Regions from separate parts of the Homo sapiens genome. Here regions 1 and 3 are each linked to region 2. Evidence: promoter capture Hi-C in human tissues and cell types (Jung and others, 2019). All regions are on one chromosome and are shown on one strand. The core of a region is centred on a gene start or on the middle of the fragment in contact, and the rest is flanking DNA. Distances in the headings are between cores, read along the strand shown. Region 1 holds the start of RABEP2 (rabaptin, RAB GTPase binding effector protein 2). Region 2 holds the start of SULT1A2 (sulfotransferase family 1A member 2). Region 3 has its middle 19 kb from the start of SBK1.

Region 1 (4,876 bases), core at 1,218-3,717, 330 kb before region 2:
CCATGCCCAGCTAATTTTTTTTTTTTTTTGAGACAGAGTCTTGCTCTGCTGCCCAGGCTGGAGTGTAATGGCATGATCTCAGCTCACTGCAACCTCTGCCTCCCGGGTTCAAGCAATTCTCCTGCCTCAGCCTCCCAAGTAGCTGGGACTATAGGCGCATGCCACCATGCCCGGCTAATTTTTTGTATTTTTAGTAGAGACAGGGTTTCACCATGTTAGCCAGGATGGTCTTGATCTCCTAACCTCGTGATCCGCCCTCCTCAGCCTCCCAAAGTGCTGGGATTACAGGCGTGAGCCACCGTGTCCGGCCATGCCCAGCTAATTTTTTAATTTTTTGTAGAGATGAGGTCTCACTATGTTGTTCAGGCTGGTCTCGAACCCCTGGGCTCAAGTGATCCTCCTGCCATTGGCCTCCTAAAGTGCTAGCATTATAGGCATAAGCCACCACACTCAGCCAGAGGTGGTTATTTTAGTTAGGGTGATCAGGGAAGGCCTCACTGAGGAGGTAACATTTGAGCCGAGACCTCAGCTCCAAGCTTGGTGGAAAACACTTGGTTTTATACTTGATGAAAAAGTAAGTGCGTGTTTAGTTTTGTTCAAAACTGCCATACTCTTTTTGCAGAGTGGCTATACCATTTCACATTCCCATCAACAAAATATGAGAAACCTAGTTTCTCCACATACTCACCAGCATTTGGTGTTAGCATTCTTATTTTAGCCATTCCAAGAAGTGCGTAGTGATGAAAGCAATTGTGGTTTTAATTTGTATTTCCCGAATAAATAGCTAATGATGTTTAACATCTTTTCATGCACATATTGCCACCTGTGACAGCAGTGAAATATCCGTTCATATCCTTTGTCCATTTTCTTTATTTCAAGTTCTGGGGTACATGTGCACGATGTGCAGGTTTGTTACACAGGGAAACATCTGCCATGGTAGTTTACCGCACCCATTAACCCATCACCTAGGTATCAAGCCCAGGATGCATTAGCTACTCTTGCTGATGCTCTCCCTCCCCCCTCCCAACACCCACCCCACAGGCCCCCATGTGTGTTGGTCCCCTCCCTGTGTCCATGTGTTCTCATTGTTCAGCTCCCACTTATAAGTGAGAACATGCATGTTTAGCTTTCTGTTGCTGCATTAATTTGCTGAGGATAATAGCTTCTAGCTTCATCCATGTCCCTGCAAAGGACATGATCTCGTTCCTTTTTATGGCTGTATAGTATTCCATGGTGTATATGTACCACATTTTCTTTATCCAGTCTATCATTGATGGGCATTTGGGTTGAGTCCATGTCTTTGCTATTTTGAATAGTGCTTCAATGAACATACTCGTGCATGTATCTTTGTAATAGAATGATTTATATTCCTTTAGGTATATACCCAGTAATGGGATTTCTGGGTCAAATGGTATTTCTGGTTCTAGGTCTTTGAGGAATCACCACACTGTCTTCCACAATGGTTGAACTAATTTACATTCCCACCAACAGTGTAAAAGCGTTCTACCTTTGGCCATTTTCAAACTGCATTATCTGTTTTACAAAAATCGCTCCAGCTGCTTTACGGAGAATTAATTAATTAAAGGGTGGAGTCGACACTGCGGAAGTTCAGGAGAAGTGATGGGAGCTGGGACGGAGTGTTAGCGCTGGAGATGGAGAAAAAGGGGCACATTCTGGAATAGTCAGCACATTGGAAGTAGAGTTTACGGGACTTGCAGGAGGACACGTAGAATCAAGGACTTCCAGGTTCCTGGCGTGTCCTTTACAGAGGGAAAAAAGGTTTGAGGGAAGGGGAACCAAGGCTCTGGACATAAATCTGAATTGCCTGTCACCGTCCGGGTGGAGGTCACAGATAAAGAGCCTGATCTAGACACAGGCGGAGAGGAGAGGAGGGATTTGAGGGCGTTGGGAGGAGGAAAGGGGGGCCAGCAGGAAGCGGTGACTGGCTGAGTAACAAAATGGGGGTGGGGACGTGCAAGTTTCAGACTCCGACTAACTACGCGGGGACTCCGAGGCGCTCAGAAAAATGAAGCCGACCCGGCCCTGCCCCGAGGGACGCTCCAAGAGGGCGGAGGTGCAGGGAGGGCCCCGCCACAATTCGCGGTAACGCAAGCCAGGCTCGGGCGGAAGGGCGGCCGGAGCCGATCAAAGGCTGGCTCCGGGCAGGGGCAGCGAGGGAGCGAGGGGGAGCTCTCCGCAGGCCGGTGTCCCGGAGGAGGCATAATTGGAGCAGGGCTTCCAAGGTCACGGAGAGACGCCGGGCAAGACCTCTTAAGGATCCTCTTCCGGGCTTGAAAGGCAGGCGTCCTCCCGAACCGCGCGACCCAGCCAAGAAGAGCCGGGGCGGGGCCGGGGCCGGGGCCGGGGGCCGACTCGGGAATCTTCGGCCGAGGCTCGGCAATCCCCCCATCCTCCGTCCGGGGCCTCCAGCCCGGGGCCGATCCGGAAACAGCCGAGCGGATCCGGAAACAGCCGAGAGGACCCGGAAGCGGTGCGCTCCGTCACCAGGGAGTGCGGGAATCCGCCGTTTGCGCTGAGGCAATGGCGGCAGCTGCGCCGGTGGCCGCGGACGACGATGAGCGGCGGCGGCGGCCGGGGGCTGGTACGTGAGGGGGCGTCCGTGCAAGCGGGGAACGGTGATGCTGGGGGCGGGGCCGAGCCAGCCACCTGCGGATGGGGGGTGGAGAGGGATGATGGAGGAAGGGGCGGGGCCACGCCGTCGGGAAAGGGGGCGGGGCCTACAGCCACAGGCAAAAGGGGGCGTGGCCCGGCCATTGAAGGGGTAGGGCCAGTGACAGGTGCGAAGTGGGGCCCGGTGAGGAAGGGGCGCGGCCACTAGGAGGGCGGGGCCAGGTGGGACCGAAGAGAGGACTGAGTGAAACTGGCCACCGCGAAGAGATGGAGTGTAGGCAGCACCCGGCAGAGCGAGTGGGAAGGGGGCGGGGCAGGGGCGGGGCCAGGTGAGCCGGGCGGGCCCAGGTGAAGGAGGCCCCAGATGAAGGCAACAGTACTAGGTTGCAGGACTTGCTAAGCCGGTAGGTGGCCTGGGGTAAGAGATGGGAAGAGAGGCTGATCCCTGTCCCCCACAGCACTGGAGGACTCCCGGTCCCAGGAAGGGGCAAATGGTGAGGCCGAGTCAGGTGAGCTCAGCCGGCTTCGGGCTGAGCTGGCAGGCGCCCTGGCAGAAATGGAAACCATGAAGGCTGTGGCAGAGGTGAGCGAGAGCACGAAGGCCGAGGCTGTGGCTGCGGTGCAGCGGCAGTGCCAAGAGGAGGTGGCCTCGCTGCAGGCCATCCTGAAAGGTGAGACGCGGGACTCACCTAGACTCCCCATCAACCCCATACTGGGGAGTGCATGACGAGAAAGGGATTGGGGGCACAGATAAGCTATGGGATAGGTTAGCAGGGCTGCCTGGCACAGGGCATGCCTATGGCCCAGAGGAAGGGCCGCCCTTTTAAAATTTGCATAGAGGCCCTCCATGTGATAGCAGCAGCTCTGTCAGTTATAGCTAAGTTTAGCTCCCAGCTTCTATCTGTTGCCTTGTCCCATGTCATTTCTTGTCCCTCACTGATGATTGATCAACCCTGAAGATGGGCGAGAAACTTCTCAGTTCCCCAAACCAACCTCATTTTAGTCTGGACTTCTGGGAAATAGAATCAGCCCTGGCCCAGTCTCTGTGAGTCTAATGCTCTGCTCTCTAGCCTTCCCCAGACACTCCCCCCTCCACCCCACGCCATGCACCAGCTTCCCCACCTCCGCCCCACGTTCTTTGTACTTGGTCCTCTGGCCCCAGACGCCCCAGCTGCTGATCCTGTTTTCTACTCTCCTTCCTCTAGCAGAAGCCAGAGACTCTGAAACAGATGTCAGAGCTGCCCCCGCTGCTATGCCCCTGCTGCGGTGGGGCTCTCGTCAACTCTCTCCTGGACTTTTGTCCCAACCTTCTCACAGATCTTCCTCTATAGTGTGGCCTTGACATTGGCTTCCAGAGTAAACTTCCTAAAATTCCCTTCCCAACATGCGATTTCCCTTTCTAACAGCTGCTGGTGGCTGGAGACTTCTCTGGGGCTGTATTTCCCACATTTCAGGATCCACCTGCCTGTGCAATGTAGACACATCCTTGTACAACTTACTGTGCTGTTTACTTAATATTTGTTCTTTAAATAGATCCACATTTTAAAAGTTTACATACATTTATTAAGGGAAACTTGTTATATCTACTATATAAGAAAAGCCAGGTGTGTCCTAAATAATAACAATAGCTAGCTTTTTTTTTTTTTCTTGAGTCAATAAGAGTTTCACTCTGTCGCCCAAGCTGGAGTGCGTCACAGCACGCTGGTGTGATCTCAGCTCACTGCAACCTCCACCTCCTGGGCTCAAGCAGATCCTCCTACCTCAGCCTCCCAAGTAGCCAAGACTACAGGTGCATGCCACCATGCCTGGCTAATTTTTAGTATTTTTTTGTAGAAACAGGGTCTCTCTATGTTACCCAGACAGGTCTTGAACTCCTGAGCTCAAACGATCTGCCTGCCTTGGCCTCCCAAAGTGCTGGGATTACAGGTGTGAGCCACCGCGCCTGGCCAGGTAGCATGTTTTGAGCACTCACTATGTGCCAGGCACTGAGCTAAATGCTTTATGAGTAACTAATCTTCATAACAAACTCTGTGAGGCAGGAACTATTACCCATCTCCATTTTACAGAGGAAGCTCTGAGGCCCGGAGAGGTTAAATAACTTGCCCAAGGTCATATAGCTGGAAAACAGCCAAAGGTTGGAAACCAAGCAGCCTAACAGCTGAACCTATTTTTTTTTTTTTCTGAGACAGTGTCTCACTGTTACCCAGACTGGAGTTCAGTGGTGCAGTCTCAGCTCACTGCAACC
Region 2 (5,008 bases), core at 478-2,977:
GTGCTGGGATTACAGGAGTGAGCCACCGTGCCAGGCCTTCTCCAGGCTCTTGGCACCTTAGCCAGAAACAATTTAAGGACAAGTGCAAAAGTCATGAACGTAGGCAGATTTCCTGCAGAGTAAAGGGACTCACTGAAGAAGAGGAACGTGGGGGTCCTCAAGAGAGTGTCTCATGCCCTACAAGGTGTGGGGCTGACCTTTATGGGCTTCTTCAACTAAAGAGGGGTATATTCATGAAGATTCCAGGAAAAGGTAAAGATTTCTCAAGACCGTGGTGCCACAATTTACACCCAAATACAGGTGTTCCTGGAGCCGTCTTGGCACTGGTGGGTGTACGGTTTCATATGTTACTGATTGTACAGTGAGATCCTAGGTGAAACCTACATCAAATACAGCGCCATGTTGCTTCTGGTTGGTCGCAGCCAGCTTGGTCCTCATCCTATTTTTCAGGGACTTATTGGCCCTTGGCACATGCAGCTATTTCAAGTTTCCTTCTTCTGGTCATGTGAAACTGCTGCCTGGGATTTTCTGTTGTCTTGCTAGCACTCTATTAATCTCACATTCTCGCCTCTTTTCTGTGCCACCCCCTGCTGGTCCGGCTGGTTTTCACTAGAGTGCAATACAAAGTCTCAGTCAAGAGGGCCTCCTGAAGGTTGCTGAGGGCAGGGGTGGAGCTAGTAGCCGGAGGACCTGCCAGTCATGGGGATTCCTCAGGGGCACAGAGGAGGGAGGAGGGGCCTGTGGCCCTAGCAGGGGAGCAGCCTCTCCTCTGCCTGGAAATCCCATGCCTCAGTTTTCCCCGCTTGCCTCTGAGCTCACGCAACCCTGGGAAGGCTTGGGAGACTCACCTTTACTCAGATGGTTGTTTACCTGTCTCGTGCCCAGCTTGACCCTGGACTTTAAATAGTGAGGACAAAGAACGAGGAGGGTGGGGGGATGCACTCCTTCCACGGGGCCCTGTGGCTTCCAAGCCTCAACCTCCTCTGGCCTCTGTCTGTGGAGCCTCCTTCAAACCCATGGAAAGAAAAGTACCTGCCAGGGGCTGTGGTTCTTCTAGGATCTTCTATCGATGTTCTGTGAGGTCCCCAGGGAGCCATGAAGCTGGGGCTGGCTCCCAGGGCAATGGGACTGCAGTGTCCTTGTTCTTTCTTGTTCTATGGATCCATGCTCTGCTCCACCCCTGCCCCTTCACTCTGCCCACACGCATCACTCCAGACTGGCCTTGTGGTCAGAGCCTGGAGTGCATGGGCTGCTGGAGGCCTGTGGGTTGCACTGGGCCAGGACCCCTGGCACCTTCAAGACTGGCCTGGAGCCAGCAGGTAGGTGACCTTTCCAGGGCCTGCCTATCCCATCTTTCTCCTCCAATCCCTCCCCTCTCTTGCCTGGGTCAATTAGAGAAAGCTTGTCTTTTGGAGTTCAGGGGCAGGTCAGGAGCCCAGTGACAGCTCAAAAAAAAAAACCCACAAAAACAAACCCACCATTGGGCCCTTTCCCCTTTCATTCTTCTGTTTTCTACACACCAAACCCAGTCGTGGCTTTGGAGATCACTTTAAGCTTGTCTCCAGCTGGCAAACTAAGGAGGGTAATAGAGAAGCTCCCCCACCCCCAACCCTACCCCTTCCTTCCGGAAGCAAATCTAAGTCCAGCCCCGGCTCCAGATCCCTCCCACACTGACCTAAGAAACCCTCAGCACAGACAACACCCCTGCATTCCCCACACAACACCCACACTCAGCCACTGCGGGCGAGGAGGGCACAAGGCCAGGTTCCCAAGAGCTCAGGTGAGTGACACACCGGAATGGCCCAGGACGCCCTCACCCTGCTCAGCTTGTGGCTCCAACATTCCAGAAGCCGAGGCCTCTGCTATCCCTGCCCTCTCCCCATGGATATCCCATTTCAGACAACCCCGGCCGGCCTGAATCCCCCTCCCTTCCTTTTTTTTTTTTCCGGGGAGGCCAGGTCTTGCTGTCACCGAGGCTGGAGTGCTGTGGGATCCTGGCCACTGCAGCCTTGAATTCCTGGGCTCAAGTGATTCTCCTGCCTCAGTAGCTAGGACTACAGACCCTCACCATCCTGCCTGGATAGTTTTAAAAAATATTTTTAAAAGATTTTTAGAGATGGGGTCTTCCAATGCTGCCCAGATTGGTCTCCAAATTCTGGCCTCAGCCTCCCTAGGGTCTGGGATTACAGGTGGGAGCCACCCTGCCCAGGATCCTCCTTTTGCTGAGTCATCACAGTTTTGCTCATTCCCACATCAGGCTCTGGCCCCCAATACCAGCTCAGTTGCTCAATGGGCTGTTTGTCCTGGAGCCCAGATGGACTGTGGCCGGGCAAGTGGATCACAGGCCTGGCCAGCCTAGGAGTTGCCACATGTGAGGGGCCGAGGGGCTCAAGGAGGGGAACATCGGGGAGAGGAGCCTACTGGGTGGAGGCTGGGGGTCCCAGCAGGAAATGGTGAGACAAAGGGCGCTGGCTGGCAGGAAGACAGCACAGGAAGGTCCTAGAGGTTCCTCAGTGCAGCTGGACTCTCCTGGAGACCTTCACACACCCTGACATCTGGGCCCCGCGCCACGAGGGTGCTTTCACTGGTCTGCACCATGGCCCAGGCCCTGGGATTTTGAACAGCTCCGCAGGTGAATGAAAGGTGAGGCCAGGCTGGGGAACCACCACATTAGAGCCCGACCTGGTTTTCAGCCCCAGCCCCGCCACTGACTGGCCTTGTGAGTGCGGGCAAGTCACTCAGCCTCCCTAGGCCTCAGTGACTTCCCTGAAAGCAAGAATTCCACTTTCTTGCTGTTGTGATGGTGGTAAGGGAACGGGCCTGGCTCTGGCCCCTGACGCAGGAACATGGAGCTGATCCAGGACATCTCTCGCCCGCCACTGGAGTACGTGAAGGGGGTCCCGCTCATCAAGTACTTTGCAGAGGCACTGGGGCCCCTGCAGAGCTTCCAGGCCCGGCCTGATGACCTGCTCATCAGCACCTACCCCAAGTCCGGTAGGTGAGGAGGGCCACCCACCCTCTCCCAGGTGGCAGTCCCCACCTTGGCCAGCGAGGTCATGCTCACCTCAGCCTGCTCACCTCCCATCTCCCTCCCTCTCCAGGCACCACCTGGGTGAGCCAGATTCTGGACATGATCTACCAGGGCGGTGACCTGGAAAAGTGTCACCGAGCTCCCATCTTCATGCGGGTGCCCTTCCTTGAGTTCAAAGTCCCAGGGATTCCCTCAGGTGTGTGTGTCCTGGGTGCAAGGGGAGTGGAGGAAGACAGGGCTGGGGCTTCAGCTCACCAGACCTTCCCTGACCCACTGCTCAGGGATGGAGACTCTGAAAAACACACCAGCCCCACGACTCCTGAAGACACACCTGCCCCTGGCTCTGCTCCCCCAGACTCTGTTGGATCAGAAGGTCAAGGTGAGACTGGGCACAGTGGTTCACACCCGCAATCTCAGTACTTTGGGAGGCTGAGGTGGGAAGATCCCTTGAAGCCAGAAGTTCCAGATAAGTCTCTTCCAAAAAAAAAACTTAGCTGTGCATAGTGGTGTGTGCCTGTAATACCAGCTACTCAGGAGGCTGAGGTGGGAGGATCATCTGAGCCTAGGAGTTTAAGGCTACAGTGAGCTATGATCACACCAGTGCACTCCAGGCTGGGTGACAGAGAAACACTGTCTCAAAAAACGATGAATAGAAAGAGTGTCCCACCAGTGCGGTGGCTCACACCTGTAATTCCAGCACTTGAAGAGGCTGAGGCAGGTGGATCACCTGAGACTAGGAGTTTGAGATCAGCCTGGCCAACATGGCAAAACCCCATCTCTACTAAAAATACAAAAAAATTAGCCGGGCATGGTGGCAGGCATCTGTAATCCCAGCTACTTGGGAGGCTGAAGCAGGAGAATTGCTTGAAGCTGGGAGGCAGAGGTTGTAGTCAGCCGAGACCTCACCATTGCACTGCAGCCTGGGAAACAAGAGCAAAACTCTGTCTCAAAAAAAAAAAAAAAAAAAAAAAAAAAGCGGCAGGTGGCAGGGGGCTGGGCCTGTTGTGGCTCACGCCTGTAATACCAGCACTTTCGGAGGTCGAGGTGGGCAGATCACCCAAGGTTAGGAGTTTGAGATCAGCCTGGCCAACATGGAGAAACCCCGTCTCTACTAAAAATACAAAAATTAGCCAGGCGTTGGGGCAGGCGCCAGTAATCCCAGCTACTCGGGAGGCTGAGGCAGGAGAATAGCTTGCACCTGGGAGGCGGTGGTTGCAGTGAGCCGAGATTGTGCCACTGCACTCCAGCCTGGGAGACACAACGAGACATTGTTTCAAACAAAACAAATAAATATTTTAAAAGGTTTGCCACCTGGGTGGCTCACCGCTGTAATGCCAGCATTTTGGGAGGCCAAGATGGGTGGACCGCTTGAGCTCAGGAGTTCCAGACCAGCCCAGGAAACATGGGGAGACTCCATCTCTATAAAAGATGCAAATAATCAGCAGGGCATGGTGGCATAGCGCTATAGTCCCAGCTACTCAAAAGTCTAAGGTTGGAGGATTGCTTGAGCCTGGGAGGTCAACGTTGCAGTGAGCTATTCTCACTCCAGTGCACTCCAACCTGGGCAACAGGAAAAAAGAAAGCCCAAGGTCTTTTTTCTCTTTTCTCTTTTTTTTGAGACCTAGAGTCCCCCCCCCCAAAAAAAAAAAAAAACCACAACAAAAAGAAAAAAGCAAAGGTCCAGGTGTGGGGCATGTGAATCCAGGGAAGGAGGCCCCGGCTCAGCCCAGCTTTGGTCCTGTTCTTCTGGGAGAGTCGCCTCACTTCCTCCAGACTTGTCTCATCTTCCACGGGGGGGACTGTCTGCCTTTTGCTCTGATGACCAAAAACATGAGACTCTTCCGGGTAGACCTAAGAAAGGTAGAGGGTGGGTCCTCACAGGCCCACAAAATTTGGTGGTGGTGGGAACATGCCTGGTGGAGCATGCCTTGCTCCAGATCGGGGTGTGACGCATTGATGCAGATTATATTACTATAG
Region 3 (4,994 bases), core at 1,898-4,397, 320 kb after region 2:
CTGGGCTCAAACGATCCACCTGCCTTGGCCTCTCAAAGTGCTGGAATTACAGACATGAGCCACTGCACCGGGACCCCCTCATTCTTTTTCCAGGACTTTCTTGTGGGCACCAAGGCTCTGGCGTCTCCTCCTGACCCACGTCTTGAGCCATTTCTGGGCCCCCGAACAAAGCTTCTTGATGGAACTGGCTTCCTTCTCTCTGCTCTGCAACTTCCCAGTCTCTTTTGTTTGTTCTTATTATTTCTTCTCTTCTTATATACATATAGAAAATATACTTTTAATTTGTATTCAAGTTAGATATGCCCATTGTTTAGAATCAACGCACAGGGGCAGCCTCACCCCCATTTCTCACTTATTTTTTAAGAGATGGAGTCTCGCTCTGTCACCCAGGCTGGTGTGCATTGGTGTGATCACGGCTCACTGTAGCAATCCTCCCGCCTCAGCCTCCTGTGTAGCTGGGACCACAGGCACAAGCCCCAGTGACTGGCTAATTTGTAATTTTTTGTAGAGATGGGGGAGGGTCTCACTATATTGCCCAGGCTGGTTTCGAACTTCAGCCCTCTAGAGATCCTCCTGCCTCGGCCTCCCAAAGTGCTGGGGTTACAGCGTGAGCCACCACGCCCGGCCCCTTTTCCCACTTCATAAGGACAACCATCTCAACTCTTTTAGCTCGTGATTAGTCATTTTTACCTCCACATTTCCTACATACCATGTTTACATTGCTTCTTTTCCAGTTTTAGGCATTCCTTACCAACCTCCCACTTTGGGAGAAGAGGATTTAGCTCCTTATGTCCAACCACTCCCTCTCCCACCCACTCCCACATCCTATCCCCCCTCACATTACAGTTGCATTATAACATTGGTAAGACTGGAAATGTTTACATATTGTGGAAACGTTATTTACAGCTCTGTGTGGAACACTATGATTCCTTTCTTTTTTTTTCAATAATAGGCTTTATATTTTAGAGTAGTTTTAGGCTTACAGAACAATTGAGCAGAACGTGTTTCTTTTTATTTTTTGAGACAGAGTCTCACTCTCTCACCCAGGCTGGAGTGCAGTGGCTCGATCTCGGCTCACTGCAACCTCCGCCTCCTGGGTTCAAGCGATTCTCCTGCCTCAGCCTCCCGAATAGCTGGGATTACAGGCACCCACCACCATGCCTGGCTAATTTTTTTGTATTTTTAGTAGAGACGGGGTTTCACCATGTTGGCCAGGCTGGTCTTGGACTCCAGACCTCGGGTGCTCTGCCTTCCTCGGCATCCCAAAGTGCTGGGATTACATGTGTGAGCCATCGCACCTGGCCTGAGCAGAACGCGTTTGAATTGACCAAGAGACTTTCAGTTTTGTAGTATACTTCCTCTCCTCCCAACAAATTTCTCCTACCATTAACATCTTGTATCAGCGTGGTGCACTTGTTAAAACTGATGAACCAAGATTGATACATAGTTGCTAACTAAAGTTCATATGTTACATCATCGGGGCTCATTCTTTGTTTTGTAGAGTTCCATGGGTTTTGACAAATGTATGTTACAGGTCCACCCTCCCAGTATCATACAGAATAGTTTCACTGCCCTAAAAATCCACCATGCTGTACCTCTTCATCCCTCCCTCTCTCCCGCCAGCCCCCTGGCAACCACTGATCTTTTTATTCTCTTTAGTTTTGGTTTTTCCAGAATGTCATATCACTGGAGTCAGATAGTACTTTTCAGACTGGCTTCTTTCACGTAGCAATACACATTTAAGGTTCCTCTGTGTCTTTTGGGTGGCTTGATGGCTCATTTTATCACTGAATGTTCCATTGTATGGGTGTACCTATAGAAGGACATTGTCATTGTGGTTTCTTCCAAGTTTTGGCAATTATGAATAAAGCTGCTATAAATATTCATGTGCAGATAAGACACCAAAAACAGGCAGCAAAAACAAGAATAGACAAGTGGGGCTGGGCGCAGGGACTCTCGCCTGGAATCCCAGCACTGTGGGAGGCCAAGGTGGGTGGACTGCTTGAGCTCAGGAGTTTAAGACCAGCCTGGGTAACACGGCATAACCCCATCTCTACAAAAAAATGAAATGGACAAGTGGGACTACATCAAACTAAAAAGCTTCTGCTTAGCAAAAGAAACAATCTACACAGTGAAAAGACAACCTATGGCCGGGCATGGTGGCTCATGCCTGTAATCCCAGCACTTTGGGAGGCCGAGGCAGGCGGATCACCTGAGGTCAAGAGTTTGTTGAGACCAGCCTGGCCAAAATGGTGAAACCCCATCTCTACTAAAAATACAAAAATTAGCTGGGCATGGGGGCTCACGCCTGTAATCTCAGCTACTTGGGAGCCTGGGGCAGGAGAATTGCTTGAACCCAGGAGGCGGAAGTTGCAGTGAGCCGAGACTGCGCCATTGCACTCTAGCTTGGTCAATAAGAAAGAAACTCTGTCTCAAAAGAAAAAAAAAAAATCTGAAAGAGAGGCCAGGTGCGGTGGCTCACACCTTTAATCCAGCACTTTGGGAGTTCAAAGTGAAGGGACTGCTTGAGGCCATGAGTTCGAGACCAGCCTGGGCAACATAATGAGACCCTGTCTCTAAAAAAAGAAAAAAATAATTCTCAAAATGGTATTAGCACTCCTGTGTTCTTTACAACAATATTCACAATAGCCAAATGTAGAAATAACCCAAATGGGTTGAATGGATGAAAAAAATGTGATCTATACATGCAACAGGGACTACTACAATTAAGCCTTAAAAATATGCGATGACAGGCCAGGCATGGTGGCTCACGCCTGTAATCCCAGCACTTTGGGAGGCCGAAGTGGGTGGATCACAAGGTCAGGAGTTCGAGACCAGCCTGGCCAATATGGTGAAACCCTATCTCTACTAAAAATACAAAAATTAGCCAGGCGTGGTGGGGCATGCCTGTAGTCCCAGCTACTCAGGGGGCTGAGGCAGAAGAATCGCTTGAACCTGGGAGGCAGAGGTTGCAGTGAGCCAAGATCATGCCACTGCACTCCAGCCTGGGTGACAGAGTGAGACTCCGTCTCAAAAAAAAAAAAAAAAAAAAGAAAGAAAGAAAGAAAGAAAAAAAATATGTGACAACATAGATGAAACTCAAGGACATTATGCAAAGCAAAATAAGCCACAGAAGGACACATATCTCATAATTCCACTTATATGGGATATCTAAAGAAGTCTAATTCCTAGATTTTGGTTCTATAGTTGTCAGAGTTGCAGAAGAAATTGGGGAATAGCTCATCAGTAGGCATAAAGATTCAATAAAGCAAGATGAATAAGCTCTAAAGAGCTGCTGTGTAACTCTGTACCAGGGGCTCACACCTGGAATCCCAGCACTTTGGGAGGCTGAGGCTAGAGGACCACTTGAGCCCAGGAGTTCGAAACCAGCCTGGACAACATAGCGAAACTCTGTCCCTATAAAAAATTTAAAAATTAACTGGACATGGTGGCATGCATCTGTAGTCCCAGCTACTCTGGAGGCTGAGGATGGAGGATTGCTTGAGCCCAGGAGATGGAGGCTGCAGTGAGCTGTGATTGTACTCCAGCCTCAGTAACAGAGTAAGACCATGTCTCAAAAAAACAACCATGTATTATACATGTATTGTACATTTAAAAATATGTTAGGAGGACAAATTTCATTAAGTGTCCTTACCACAGTAAAACGAAACTAGCAAATATTCATGTGCAGGATTTTCTGTGGGCATAAATTTTCAACTTATTTGGGTAAATACCAAGGAGCACTTGATATTTTCTGCCATTCTGTGGCTTCTCTTCACATTCTCTTGGCAGAGTCTTTTGCAGGGCAGAAATTTTCATTTTAAATTTCTTTCCCTTTTCTGTTCAAAAGTTTCGGTTTTCCTGGATTTGATAACATTTTTTGGAGAGGGGAGTACTTGTTTACCTACATGTTTATATATCAGTCAACCCATATTCTCCCCTACTTGTGTAAATGTCTCCAAAATTCAAAAACATTAGGTATTCTATCAATTTCATCTCCTTGAAGAGATCTCTTCTCTTATTTGAGTGTGAACTGCGAGATTCTCTTCTCCTCTCTCTTACATTCAATTCCTGTTTCCTGGAGTCCAGATGTTACTCTCTTTTTTGGGGGTGGGGGGACGGAGTCGCATTCTGTCACCCAGCCTGGAGTGCAGTGGTGTGATCTTGGCTCACTGCAACCTCCGCCTCCCAGGTTCAAGTGATTCTCCTGTCTCAGCCTCCCAAGTAGCTGAGATTACAGGCGTGTGCCACCATGCCCAGCTAATTTTTGTATTTTTAGTAGAAATGGGGTTTCACCATGTTGGCCAGGCTGGTCTTCAACTCCCGACCTCAGGTGATCTGCCTGCTTTGGCCTCCTAAAGTGCTAAGATTACAGGTGTGAGCCACTACTCCTGGCCCAGGTCTTACTCTTTATTGTTTTTCTTGTTTACTATTTCTTGTTTTACTTGGTTTACTCCCTTATTTTAGTGGAGTACATCCTCCAGTAGCTTTCTCAAGTAAGGGTGCGTAGGCCGGGTGCAGTGGCTCACGCCTGTAATCCCAGCACTTTGGGAGGCTGAGACGGGTGGATCACAAGGTCAGGAGATCGAGACCATCCTGGCTAACATGGTGAAACCCCGTCTCTACTAAAAGTACAAAAAATTAGCCAGGCGTGGTGGCGGGCGCCTGTAGTCCCAGCTACTCGGGAGGCTGAGGCAGGAGAATGGCATGTACCCGGGAGGCGGAGCTTGCAGTGAGCGGAGAGCACGCTGTTGCACTCCAGCCTGGGCAACAGAGCAAGACTCCGTCTCAAAAAATAAATAAATAAATAAATAAATAAATAAATAAATAAATAAATAAGAAAGGGTGCATAGGAGGTAAAATTTTTGAGCTCTTGCCAATCTGAAAATATTGTTTTTTCTACTCTCACTTTATTAGTAGTTTGGCTAAGTATTGAATTCTATGCTGAGGGCTGGGCACAGTGGCTCATGCCTGTAATCCCAGCACTTTGGGAG

The links. The method cuts DNA at HindIII sites, captures the fragments that hold promoters and counts their contacts. A contact is called where the count stands out against the background at its distance.
Region 1: a contact is called between the fragment with the promoter of RABEP2 here and the fragment with the promoter of SULT1A2 in region 2, in 1 of the 25 tissues and cell types used here (H1 embryonic stem cells).
Region 3: a fragment that was not itself captured here is called in contact with the fragment with the promoter of SULT1A2 in region 2 in 1 of the 25 tissues and cell types used here (dorsolateral prefrontal cortex).

The regions. Positions count from the first base shown.
Region 1 is chr16:28,922,829-28,927,704 of GRCh38, reverse strand. RABEP2 (rabaptin, RAB GTPase binding effector protein 2) reads left to right here and starts at 2,467. Exons shown (of 13, transcript NM_024816.3): 1 at 2,467-2,602; 2 at 3,090-3,302. The coding sequence starts at 2,542. RefSeq lists enhancers at 1,424-2,007, 2,986-3,215, 3,246-3,335 and silencers at 2,226-2,575, 2,606-2,825. The HindIII fragment of the contact is 23,237 bases long and covers 1-4,753 here.
Region 2 is chr16:28,593,769-28,598,776 of GRCh38, reverse strand. SULT1A2 (sulfotransferase family 1A member 2) reads left to right here and starts at 1,727. Exons shown (of 8, transcript NM_001054.4): 1 at 1,727-1,780; 2 at 2,843-2,994; 3 at 3,102-3,227; 4 at 3,313-3,410. The coding sequence starts at 2,847. RefSeq lists an enhancer at 1,495-1,789. The HindIII fragment of the contact is 13,947 bases long and covers 1-5,008 here.
Region 3 is chr16:28,270,678-28,275,671 of GRCh38, reverse strand. It overlaps a transcript of SBK1 not described here. Among named protein-coding and RNA genes, the nearest start is that of SBK1, 19 kb to the left of the region's middle. The HindIII fragment of the contact is 4,022 bases long and covers 1,137-4,994 here.